Linked DNA regions of Homo sapiens: all the other regions are linked to region 1. The links are contacts of gene promoters, found by promoter capture Hi-C in blood cells and fetal thymus (Javierre and others, 2016). All regions are on one chromosome and are shown on one strand. The core of a region is centred on a gene start or on the middle of the fragment in contact, and the rest is flanking DNA. Distances in the headings are between cores, read along the strand shown. Region 1 holds the start of COL1A2 (collagen type I alpha 2 chain). Region 2 has its middle 12 kb from the start of TFPI2. Region 3 overlaps CALCR (calcitonin receptor).

Region 1 (4,095 bases), core at 202-2,701:
GAGGCCTGACACACACACACACACACACACACACACGCACACGCGCGCGCGCGCACACACACACACACAGCCTTTCAAACCTAGGGCCTGGAATGCCATCCCAAGAGGCTTTAGAAAAAGGCACAGGACCTTTGGCCTCCCACCTCAGGGTCAAAGTACCAGTTCCTCCTCTCCCTAGTAGGGAGTGGAGGGTTGGATGGAGGCGGCCAGAGAAGAGGGAAGTTGGGTGCTGGGGAGAGAGTTAACATCCACGTTGGTGGGCGCACTGCTTGGGGTGTTACCAGCGAAGACTACGAAGACCCCAAGCTCGAATCAGAAGGGCCTCTGGATGTGCTAGGGGAGGTGCTTGGGTGTGGCTGTAAGAGATGGGACAGAGAGTAAGCAGCAAGGTCAAGAGGGACCGGGGGGCTCACGGGAGGGTTGAAGGGTCCAGGCTCAGGGTAGAACTGGTAAATCCAGACAAGGAGCCCATGGAGAAGGGGAGGGGAGACTGGAAACCATGAAAGATCCCCCACCGCAGCCTCAGAAAGGAGAGACTGAGAAATAAGTTCTCGGTCTCCAGGTCGGTTGGAGTCGTGTCGGAGTGCCAGACCATCCCCCAAAAGACCCTCTTTGGAATGAGCCTCAGCAAAGGCAAGCTAGGAGGTCGAAGGACTTCCCCAGGTGACTCGGTCTAGTCTAGAGTTCGCAAAGCCTATCCTCCCTGTAGCCGGGTGCCAAGCAGCCTCGAGCCTGCTCCCCAGCCCACCTGCCAACAAAAGGCGCCCTCCGACTGCAACCCAGCCCTCCACAGACAGGACCCGCCCTTTCCCGAAGTCATAAGACAAAGAGAGTGCATCACTGCTGAAACAGTGGGCGCACACGAGCCCCAAAGCTAGAGAAAAGCTGGACGGGGCTGGGGGCGGGGTGCAGGGGTGGAGGGGCGGGGAGGCGGGCTCCGGCTGCGCCACGCTATCGAGTCTTCCCTCCCTCCTTCTCTGCCCCCTCCGCTCCCGCTGGAGCCCTCCACCCTACAAGTGGCCTACAGGGCACAGGTGAGGCGGGACTGGACAGCTCCTGCTTTGATCGCCGGAGATCTGCAAATTCTGCCCATGTCGGGGCTGCAGAGCACTCCGACGTGTCCCATAGTGTTTCCAAACTTGGAAAGGGCGGGGGAGGGCGGGAGGATGCGGAGGGCGGAGGTATGCAGACAACGAGTCAGAGTTTCCCCTTGAAAGCCTCAAAAGTGTCCACGTCCTCAAAAAGAATGGAACCAATTTAAGAAGCCAGCCCCGTGGCCACGTCCCTTCCCCCATTCGCTCCCTCCTCTGCGCCCCCGCAGGCTCCTCCCAGCTGTGGCTGCCCGGGCCCCCAGCCCCAGCCCTCCCATTGGTGGAGGCCCTTTTGGAGGCACCCTAGGGCCAGGGAAACTTTTGCCGTATAAATAGGGCAGATCCGGGCTTTATTATTTTAGCACCACGGCAGCAGGAGGTTTCGGCTAAGTTGGAGGTACTGGCCACGACTGCATGCCCGCGCCCGCCAGGTGATACCTCCGCCGGTGACCCAGGGGCTCTGCGACACAAGGAGTCTGCATGTCTAAGTGCTAGACATGCTCAGCTTTGTGGATACGCGGACTTTGTTGCTGCTTGCAGTAACCTTATGCCTAGCAACATGCCAATGTAAGTGCCTTCAGCTTGTTTGGGGGAGACTGGGTAGAGAGGTTAGATGGGAGGGCACCCTGCCCTGAAAAGGAAAACCTGTAACCTGAATTCCAGGTACACTTGGAGGGCAGACTCTCAGGCATGTGGGAAAACGCCGGAATTGATAAGAAACATGGAAATTACTTTAAAAAATGAAAACATAAAAGCCTTGCCAAAAGTTAGGGAACTTTTCCTCTAAGTTCAGAGTGAGACAGTTAACTCGGTCTGGCTCCTCAGCTTAGTAACCCCCAAAGGGAGCGGAAGGTCTTTTTCCCTAAGGATGAGATATTAACGACCAATGTGGTGGAGGAAGTCAAGGGCCTGCACCCCACAGGCCCCATAACCGCACTGATGTCCACCTTGTAAAACTTGAGGCCTGCGTTAGAAAGCCCTTCAACTGAGTAATGTAAAACTCACCTCCTAAGAGCTTTTATCTTCTGGGCATTGTAAGGCTTGTCCGGAGGAGGAGGATGACGATGCTGATATGATGATGGTTATAAGGCGCCCTCTGGAGGAAGGAAAATGAAAGTACAGGGGACAGGGCCTTAAGCAGATGGAATCCCAATTAAAGCTTCTACGGATTTATACAGATTAATGATCAGCATTTCTGGTTGGAGCCTTTCCCAGTGGCTAGTCAGTGAACCCTGGAAAGAAGAATGGATGCTACTTGGAGTGGGTACATTCTGAAAAGTAATATAAGTGTCTCAATTCACTTTCTAGTCATGGAAATGGTAACATTTTTTAACTCAAATCTGCTCTAAATTTTGTTTGAGCCTGAGAATTACCCCTTTGACATGTTCCCAGTGATAAGCAAACATTATGAACGCAGCAAGTTGAGAAATATCAACATTGAGATGAGACTCAAGAGACCGGGGTTTTTCCCATGAGTCTGACACCAATTTGCTGCGTGACTTTGGGCAAGTCAAACGGCCTTTTCTAAAATGTGAGACAGAGATTAAAGGGACCCCAAGGCCACTTTCCAGCTCTAGGTTCCATGGCCAGACTTTCATGTCAACAGAGAATGAAGAAGATCAGTCCGTTTTCATCTTGAAAATGGCTGCCAAAGTGCTAGACAAAGATATTGACTAGATGGGGGATGGTATTGTCTGACCACACCCAGTACTCCAAAAAGTTGTTCCACCCACACAGCACGGTGTCTACCACTGCATAATTTCTAATGCATTTGTGTGCTTGTGTGTGTGTGTGTGTGTGTGTGTGTGTCTGTGTGTCTGTGTGTCTCTTCCCCCTTCATTCACTTTTAGTATACATACTGTGGATACTAAGGAGTAATTGCAGTGAACAAATTCACATTACCGAGTTCATATTTTTAATGAGATCTTGAGAGTGGGAGGAAAGAGTCGGCTCCTAGAGAATAAAATGAAGGCAGACTTAGGGAAATTTGAAGGTACAAAGGCAACTTACCTTCTGATCAACAGCCAACCACAGTCTGGAATAAATGTTATCAAACACACATTCTTCAAAATGGTCCATGTCTGAGTAATTAAAAGGCAAATTTCCAAAATCATAAGGACTTCCGTTAATCAAGTCAGGCATAATTATTCTTCCTACTGATGGACACAATGAAGTAAACATATCATTCTTGTAATTTAACAGTAATTCTCGTAAATTGCCCTTAAATGTCAGTGCTGGATGTGGTCCACCCTCCTAAATTGTGACTGTTGCAACAGATGTTCTCACTTCAAATAACGCACTTCTTGGCCACCTAATTAAAGCAATTTTTGGGGTGATTCATCCTACTGCAAGCTTGGCCACACTTGTATCCTGTATTAACCTATAATTTTTGTACCGTAGGAGAAGAATTCACTCTTTAAGGACTTATAACAATTATGGCAAAAGGGGGGATAGTACTTTTGTTTATTTTTTCTATTATTTTTCAAGATCTTTAATCCGGTTTTTCCATTTATACAAAACTCTTTCTCCGAGACAAAAATGATACATATTGGTAAAATGATCTTACCTAATTTAAGTGAACTAATTTAAAGCAAAATTCAGATGTCTGAATTAATCCATTTTCATAGTTAATAATGTGCAAATTAGACCTTTTGAAAAAGGATATTAAGAATGGTACAAACTCAATGAAGTACTAGGTAACTTCAATGTTTTATAAAAAAGTAAGTCAGCTTCAATGTTTCATAAAAAACAAATTCAATATAGAATTTTAAGGTAACATACTTTCCTAAATTTTACCTTTTTTCGATATTTAGGTATTAAAAATGATCAAAATCATAAATTATTTCCTCATCAATCTACTAGTCTTACATTCAGCGATTCATCTGTGCACTTTACCAGCTTAATTGCTAAGCATTCAAAATATCCTTCAGACACATTAATATTTCACAACAGTTATAAAATAGTAAATAATTAATAATTTAATTCAAAATACATTTACATATTA
Region 2 (4,019 bases), core at 1,456-3,955, 520 kb before region 1:
GATAAAAAATTCCCAGGAGAGGATGGCTAAGAACAGAGGGCAGACCTCTTCATTATCAAATATCAAAAGAGCTGGCTAAGCAAACGATGCAAGATTAATATGAGATTAACCTCCATTTTAGACTTAGAGGGAAGCAGCTGGCCTCTATTGAAAAACTGTAGTCTAGAACCATATCAGTTTGTGTCTTAGCATCAAATAACAGGTAAGATACAGTTACAAATGCATGCATAGGTTAAGGAGCCTGGGTTCTAAAGGTAGTGTCAACATATAATTTCTATTTTGTATGCCTTAAGAGATATGAATATAAAATCAGATTAGGTTACAAAAAGAGAAAAATCAATCCATGGTCTTTAAAACTTCAAAGAAAATTTTAACACGTTGTTTGAGACTTCCAATTTCCCTAAGAAAATAATGTATATATACAGTAATAATAATCTTTTCACGTAACTTTCCAAACCATACAGATTCATCAGGAGATCTTAATAAAACCACCCATAAGTTACTTATAGAGCAAAACTAAGAAAAAGAGAAAACATAGACTTCTATTTACACATAACTGAGGAAATAATATAAAAATTATGTGAAAAAGAAGAGAATGCAGTAGGGTCCCAGACTTGGTGAAACACAGATAATGTTACCCCAAGGAAAACACTCTTTTTCTTTGGTGTTTTCTTTGGGATAAGACAAGACCTTACTCCAACTAAGGTGTGTGGCCTGGTGGACCAAAGCAATGGCTATTGAGGAATTGGGGGAAGTGGGAGAGGCATGAAAATTGCAGGACCGGAGAGGTGGCAACCTTGTGAGAAGGCATTGCTTAGGGTGGAGTGTGAGGCAACCTAAAAAAAGTAGATATCCTTTGGAAAGAGACTTGATAGTGAATGGAAAGAAGAAATAAAGTGGTGAAAAGTAAGGATCTCATAGAAAGTTAAAAAAGAAAATAATAGAAGTGGAAGACACATCAACTCGTAAAAAAGGCATCATTTATTAAAGGCAGTGTACTTCCATGCACCCTCAGAAGAGAGTGCTCTTGAACTAAGCAACCTAGCAAGCTGCCGAAACCCCTCATAATGCACCATAGGAATGCTTGTTGTTGCTAATCCTGGAAAATCCAAGACACTTTAGAATGGACAGAAAGTCAGGCAACATTTACGTATAACTAGTGTAAGAAAAAGAAAGTGAAACTCAATTGTTTAATTTGATGAAAATAGTCCTAAAATATGCAACAGAGAAAAATGTTGATGCAACATTCAAATATAAAGTCTGTAATCTTTAACAAGCACTGGCAGATATATACATATTTGGATATATGTATATATATTTTAAATAATAAGTGTAAAATTGAACTTAACATGTATAAATAATAAATATATATTCCAATGAAAGCAATATCATTTCTTCTTAATAGGACATGAAAATTGATCTTACATGAAGTCACAAAGAAAATCTCAATAACAACTTGAATGTAGAAATAATGTAAGATCATTTATTCATAAATTATGTATATTTTTATATAAAAATGATTTTACGTATAAATGTTATATATAAATGATTTTATACATAAATGAAAATAATGTAGAAAACTTCTTTGATAGTTCAATAAAAAGAAAAATATAACAAATAGTAAGAACATAATGATAAAAGTTGCAGTTCACTGTGAATACATCTAACAATGTTATATATGAGTATAGATTCAATATACTTAAAATGTAACCAACAAAATCTAGCAATGCATTTAAAAAATAATATACAAATAGGTCATATCATTCAAATACAAGAATGGTATAATATCAGAAGAAGTTTTACATATTTTCCACAGATTATCTTATAAAAACTGTCTGACCATCTTGATTTCTTTTACAGATAGATCATTATTGATGTAAATAAATGCAACTGATTTTTGATGTTGATTTTGTGTCCTGCTACTTTACTGAATTCGATCATTAGTTCTAACAATTTTTGTGACATTTTAAGGATTTTCTACACAGAGGATCATATCATCTGCAAACAAAGATAATTTTGCTTCCTTTTGCATTTGGATGGCTTCTATTTATTTTTCTTATCTGATTGTCCTTGCTAGTATTTCCAGCAATTTTAATAGAACTGTTGAATAGAAGTGCAGAGGGTGGGCATCTTTGTACCTTGCCTTGTACTGTATCTTAGAGGAAAACCTTTCCATCTTTTAGCATCAAATAACAGGTAAGATACAGTTACAAATGCATGTATAGGTTAAGGAGCCTGGACTCTAAAGGTAGTGTCAACATATAATTTCTATTGTGTATGCCTTAACAGATATGAATATAAAAATCAGATTAGGCTACATAAAGAGAAAAATCGATCCATGGTCTTTAAAACTTCAAAGAAAATTATGTTGGCAGTTGGCTTTTTATAAATGGCTTTAGTTATGTTGAGGAAATTTTCTTCTATATGTATTTTGTTGAGAGTTTGTATCATGAAAACATGTTGAACTTTGTTAAGTATTTTTCTGCATCTATTGAGATAATCATATAATTTTTATATTTTATTCCCTTAATATAGGATATTACATTAATTTGTGTATGTTGGCACAGGTACATATAAAGACAATAAAGGATTTTTATTACTATAAATACAGTTAGTAAATCTATTAATGAAGGCAAGAACAACAAAGTTGGAGGCATCACATGTTCTTATTTCAAATTATACAACAAAGCAATAGTAATCAAAACAGTATGGCATAGGCATGAAACACACACATAGACCAGTGGAACAGAATAGGCAGCCCAGAAATAAACCCAAGCACATGTGGTCAACTAATTTCCAACAAGGCCACCAAGAAGAAATGATGAGGAAAGATTAGTTTTTTTTTCAATAAATGGAGTTGAGAAAACTGGATATCCATACATCAGAATCAACTCTAAATGGATTAAATACCTAAACATAAGGCCAGAAACAAACAAACAAAAAACTCGTAGAAGAAAACATAGGGGAAAATCTTGTTGCTATTGGCCTTGGCAATAATTTCCTGAACATCAACCCAAAAGATTAACCAACAAAAGCAAAAATAAATAGGTGGTGCTACATCAAACTAAAAGGTTTTTGCACAGCAAAGGAAGCAATCAACAAAATGAAAAGTAAGCCTACAGATGGGAAGAAAATATTTGTGAAACATATACTTCATGGGGTTAATATCCAAAATATGTAACAACTCAAAGCTATAGTAAAAACAAAAACCAAATAACCTAGTAAAAAATGGGCAAAAGAGCTAAACAGACATTTTTCCAAAGAAGACATAAAAATAGCCAACAAGAATATAAAAATGTGCTTAACATCATTAACTATGGAGGGAAATGCAAATCAAAACCACTATAAGATATCAATTCTGCTGTGCAGAAGCTCTTTAGCACTATTCACAATAGCAAAGACATGGAATCAACCTAAATGCCCATCAGTGATAGACTGGATAAAGAAAATATGGTACATATACACCATGGAATACCATGCAGCCATAAAAAAAGGATGAGATCATGTCCTTTCCAGGGACGTGGATGAAGCTGGAGGCCATTATCCTTAGCAAACTAACACAGAAACAGAAACCCAAATACCACGTTCTCACTTATAAGTGGGAGATAAATGATAAGAATGCATAGACACACAGAGGGAACAACACATACTGGGGCCTTTTGGAGGATGTAGGGCAGAGGAAGGGGAGGATCAGCAAAAACAACTAATGGGTACTACGCTTAATACCTGGGTGATGAAATAATCTGTACCACAAACCCCCATGACACAAGTTTACCCATGTAACAAACCTGCACTTGTACCCCTGGACTTTAAAAAAAATTTTTAATTAAAAAATAACCATAATAAATAAAGATATCACTTTATGCTTGTTAGGATGGCTATTATCAGAAAGTCAAGAGGTGTTTGGAAGGATGTGAAGAAATGGGAACCCTTGTATACTGTTGGGAATTTAAATTGGTACAGACATAGTAGAAAATAATATGGATGTTCCTCAAAAAAATGAAAATAGAACCACCATA
Region 3 (4,034 bases), core at 23-2,522, 950 kb before region 1:
TGTGTGTGTCTGTGTGTGTGTGTGTGTGCATGTAGAAAGATAGTCTTAGCTTTGGCATGCTAAAAACATTACATTTTAGAACTATTTGGTTGACTATCTTTCCAAAAGTCCATCTACGGAAGTGCAAATCCCTCTAGTTCTTTTTTTAATTTAAATTTTTATATTATTCTGGCAAGAACAATTAGCATCAGGTCTGCCCTCTAAACAGATTTTTAAGTGCATAGTACAAAATTGTTACCTATAGGCACAATGTTGTACAGCAGATACCTAAAATTTACTCATCTTGCATTACTTAATCTGTATAACCATTGATTAGCAACTCCCCGTTCTGTGCTTACGTTACTAAGTGTAATGTTCTTTGGGATTCTACTTGAATCATTCGAATTGTTGTTGATTACAGAAGCTTAAGGTATCACATAAACAATTTACTTATTATTATTGCCTTTGTTTTTGATACAGCTGAGCAGCTTGTTCCTTTTTTCCTTTGAATTGTTTATGTGTTTTAAGCAGATATCTTCATTGAGCTGTCTATGATGATGCCAAAAAGTTTTATAACTAATTCACAATGCATCAGTATACTCCAAGAGCAGTATAAATTGTTCCTTCCAGGGTGCCCTTGTCTCTGCTGAATGTCACCGACAAGAATACATTTACAGCCTTTTTTTCCCATGAAAAATTTTCTGAGTATGGCAGATAGATGTTTTGAACAATCAAAACTGGTAAAAGAAATATACCACAGATTTTATTTCAAAGGAAATAAATCTGGCAGAAAGTATGTGTGTGTTTGTGTGTGTGTTTGGGGTGGAATGTTATTTTCAGGTCTTTGACTGGAAGGCATTTGATCAACACCAATTATTATGATTGTGATGATCAGAATTGCCATTGCAGTGATTAAATTGTATCCAGTCTATTCTTAGCATGACCAGATTTGGAAATCTAGAAATTGTTGAGAGGGTGTACATACGGATGAGAAGGCCAGGGAAAGGAAAGATTAGTCTCTGTGGAAGGCTGGGGCTAAAAGAGAAAAAAAAAAATAGTAAAAGACCATTTTGAGTAAATTTTGACCTGTTTTAGGACAGGAAAGAGCAGGAGAACCTGTTACCTGATGTGGAACCAGCAGGATAGTGATAGCCTGATTTCTAACCTCACTGGATGGTTAAGGAAACAGGGTGCAGCGCTGCTCTCCTTATAAGGGAGCAGCCATGCAGATGAGGTGATCTGGTGAATATCCTAGACAGCCTGTACAGTTCACAAAGACCCCTTTCTCAGTCCTTTGCTGGAGGGTTCACAATCACTAGACATGTTCACACTATGTGACAACATCCCCCTCAATTTTCTTGGCCACAGTTTATTGAACCAGGGTAGGCTACCTGCCTTCAGTTGGATCAATCAGATTTTCTTGTCCTGCTATTCAGAATTGGAACTTAAAGATGGGCATTTAGTTTCTGTGAGTGCCTGGAACAGAAACATGTGTACTCAGGAAACTTTGGGGCAGGATGTATTTACTATGAAAACTGGAGGGAGCAGAGACCCTATGGTCTATGGCCTGTAAAGAAAGAGAAGGGTAAAAACAGATATGCAAGGAAAAACAAAGACAAAAGGCAGAGGGAGAGAGCTCCTGGCTTATCTGCTCCCAGGCTACAGCCCTTTTAGTTGCCTGGCTATATTTCTGCCCTTAGATTCCATGAGATACGCTAGATTCTGACAACTTCTCTGTATTTGCTTAAGTTAGAACATCTTACTCTGTTGCTTGCAACCAAATAATTGTAGCATCATCAATTCAATTTTGAGGCATCCCGCCTATCTGCCCCATTGACCCACCATTATCGGATTATCCCATTGGGCTTGGGCAATGCATTTGGTTAAAACCATGTACCCCTGTTATGTAAGGGTGTTATGGAAACCAGTATGGCATAACACCAGCCCCTTTCTGCAGTTTACAGACTGCAGGAAAGACTCTAGGCTGCTTATATGACTTCCCAAGCACATTTCTATAAAGTTGGCGACAATGCCTGTTGGGCAGGGCTTTAAATACAAAAGGTGATGTTTTTAAAAAATCCCTTGGATTGTCCTCCCTCCTCACTACACCTCTCCTCTCTTACCAGTACTTGTAGGGGCTCCCCAGCCTGCTGCATTAAAGGGCAAGCTTAGTTGAAGGCCATCCACAGCCTCTGCTCTCAGAGTCACAGTCACCCATCATGTGGGGTGGATGTGGTGAGAGAAGCCCTTGGCTCTATAGTCAGTGAGGGATGGCCCACGAGTTCCTCCTCTGGTATGGAAGTTTCAAGGTAAGGCTGAAACTTTTTTTTTGATAAGGCAGCATGTGTTTTTATCGCAGCATTTATTTTCTTTCATTGCCTCACCTTCTGTTCAGTTCCCTTCCACCAGGGGGAGCTGGACTTTCAGCAGCCCTGGGGGAAAGGGAGCAATTCTAGAGCATCCCTGAAGGACTTCAGCACCCTGCCTTAGTTTGTACGGAAGCAGCCACAGCTTAAACAATCCAGCCCTAAGCTTTCCCGAGCCAATGCCATGTGCTATGATGTCACACAGGCTCTACTTGGAAGCCCGTGTGGTTATATCTGCCTCTCAGCTGGACTCCACTTCCTGAGCTTTCACTGGAGGAATCCTGATGATGGATTGACAGGAAGAAATGTTCTTGATGAAGGAAAATGAAGCCAGGGTAGGGGAGGTACATAATTCAAAATGTGAAATTCTCCTTTGCTCTACAAACATGTGATGAATAAAGCAGAAGGAGGCCTAATCAGATCTTCTCTCAATCAGGACACATTTTGTGTCCATCATTAGCTAGGTTTGTTTCCTGAAGTTACCCTTTGGAAGTCACCCTTATCTTCCTTCTCTGTGCAGACCCTCATGTTCAGCACAGTTGAGATTGTTAAAGGGCTTCCACAGGTCTTTTGGAGACTGAACTCCTGCCAGTACCTGTGTTCCATCATTCCTTGAAGGACCTGGGACTTGACTCTATTCTCTGAGACCAAGACTAGAAGAAGACTGAAAGCATACAGACAGAGGTGAAAGTGACTCAAAACTTAGCTGCAGAAAATACATACCCCAGCCCAAGAGATAATACCACCGCAAGCGTTGCTTCTCAGTAAACACAGCCACGACAATGAGTGTATGAAGATAGATCCCTTCACAGAGCATCCAGAAATAGTTGCAGGCCATCATGTACTGGTGGAAAAAATGCAAAATCTTGCAGCTCACCTGTCAGAAAGAAAGGAAGATACTCAGAGAAAGACACAGGTAAAGATCTGCCAGGGAGCACAGAGCAAATGTGAAAACAAGCCAAAGTATCTGCATTCAGCTTGCAAGGCAGTTTCCCAAGCATCTGTAAACATGTGCCACCTGCTATACCCACAAATCAGAGTGAATGCACAGATCACTGCTATTACATGTAAATAGCCAAATAAGCCAGTGGAAAACTAGTCCACAAAATGTTCTTCCTTGTTGCATTCTGCGGACTTACACAGATGGGTTCATTTTCCTGCAATTTGTCAGACTCATAATCTTAGGCACCATCTAAGGATTTGATGCATGACTTTTATGGCCCCTTTTCTATGGCCAGTGAAGCAAATAACGCAGATATTTTTAATGCTGCTTCTGAAATTCACTGATTTGTTGATGATGTTCCTTTAGCAGTAAAGAGGAGAGAGTCAGGTGATAAATTTCATATATAAACCCAGGAGATACGCTGAGCCTAGCTGCTGTTTATGCTTTTGTTTTCATATGGGAGCCTTGGTTTGTATATTGGGATCAAGCGCTCTCTGGGCACAGAGATTAGGATGACATCCTTGCTGAGAACTCAATGCAGACGTAGGAGCCACACCCTTGGAAGAGTCAGATTAATATTGTTGTCTGTATAGAAATAACCATTGCTTGTACTGCATAATGGAATACTTTTATTTACTAGTCACTCCTGGAATAGGATTTTTCATCTTGGTACATTAGCATTTTGGAGTAGATTTTTGTTGTTGTTGCGGGGGCTGCCTTGTATGTTGTTGGGAGTTTAGCAGTAT

The links. The method cuts DNA at HindIII sites, captures the fragments that hold promoters and counts their contacts. A CHiCAGO score of 5 or more calls a contact.
Region 2: a contact is called between a fragment that was not itself captured here and the fragment with the promoter of COL1A2 in region 1, in 1 of 17 cell types (megakaryocytes). The highest score is 5.5, in megakaryocytes.
Region 3: a fragment that was not itself captured here is called in contact with the fragment with the promoter of COL1A2 in region 1 in 3 of 17 cell types (fetal thymus, M2 macrophages and total B cells); the score reaches 7.9 in fetal thymus.

What each region holds. Positions count from the first base shown.
Region 1 is chr7:94,393,444-94,397,538 of GRCh38, forward strand. COL1A2 (collagen type I alpha 2 chain) reads left to right here and starts at 1,452. Exons shown (of 52, transcript NM_000089.4): 1 at 1,452-1,658. The coding sequence starts at 1,589. The HindIII fragment of the contact is 15,634 bases long and covers 1-2,248 here.
Region 2 is chr7:93,876,881-93,880,899 of GRCh38, forward strand. No RefSeq gene overlaps it. Among named protein-coding and RNA genes, the nearest start is that of TFPI2, 12 kb to the right of the region's middle. The HindIII fragment of the contact is 6,841 bases long and covers 1-4,019 here.
Region 3 is chr7:93,440,536-93,444,569 of GRCh38, forward strand. It overlaps CALCR (calcitonin receptor), which reads right to left. Exons shown (of 14, transcript NM_001742.4): 9 at 3,069-3,222. Among named protein-coding and RNA genes, the nearest start is that of MIR653, 40 kb to the right of the region's middle. The HindIII fragment of the contact is 1,743 bases long and covers 402-2,144 here.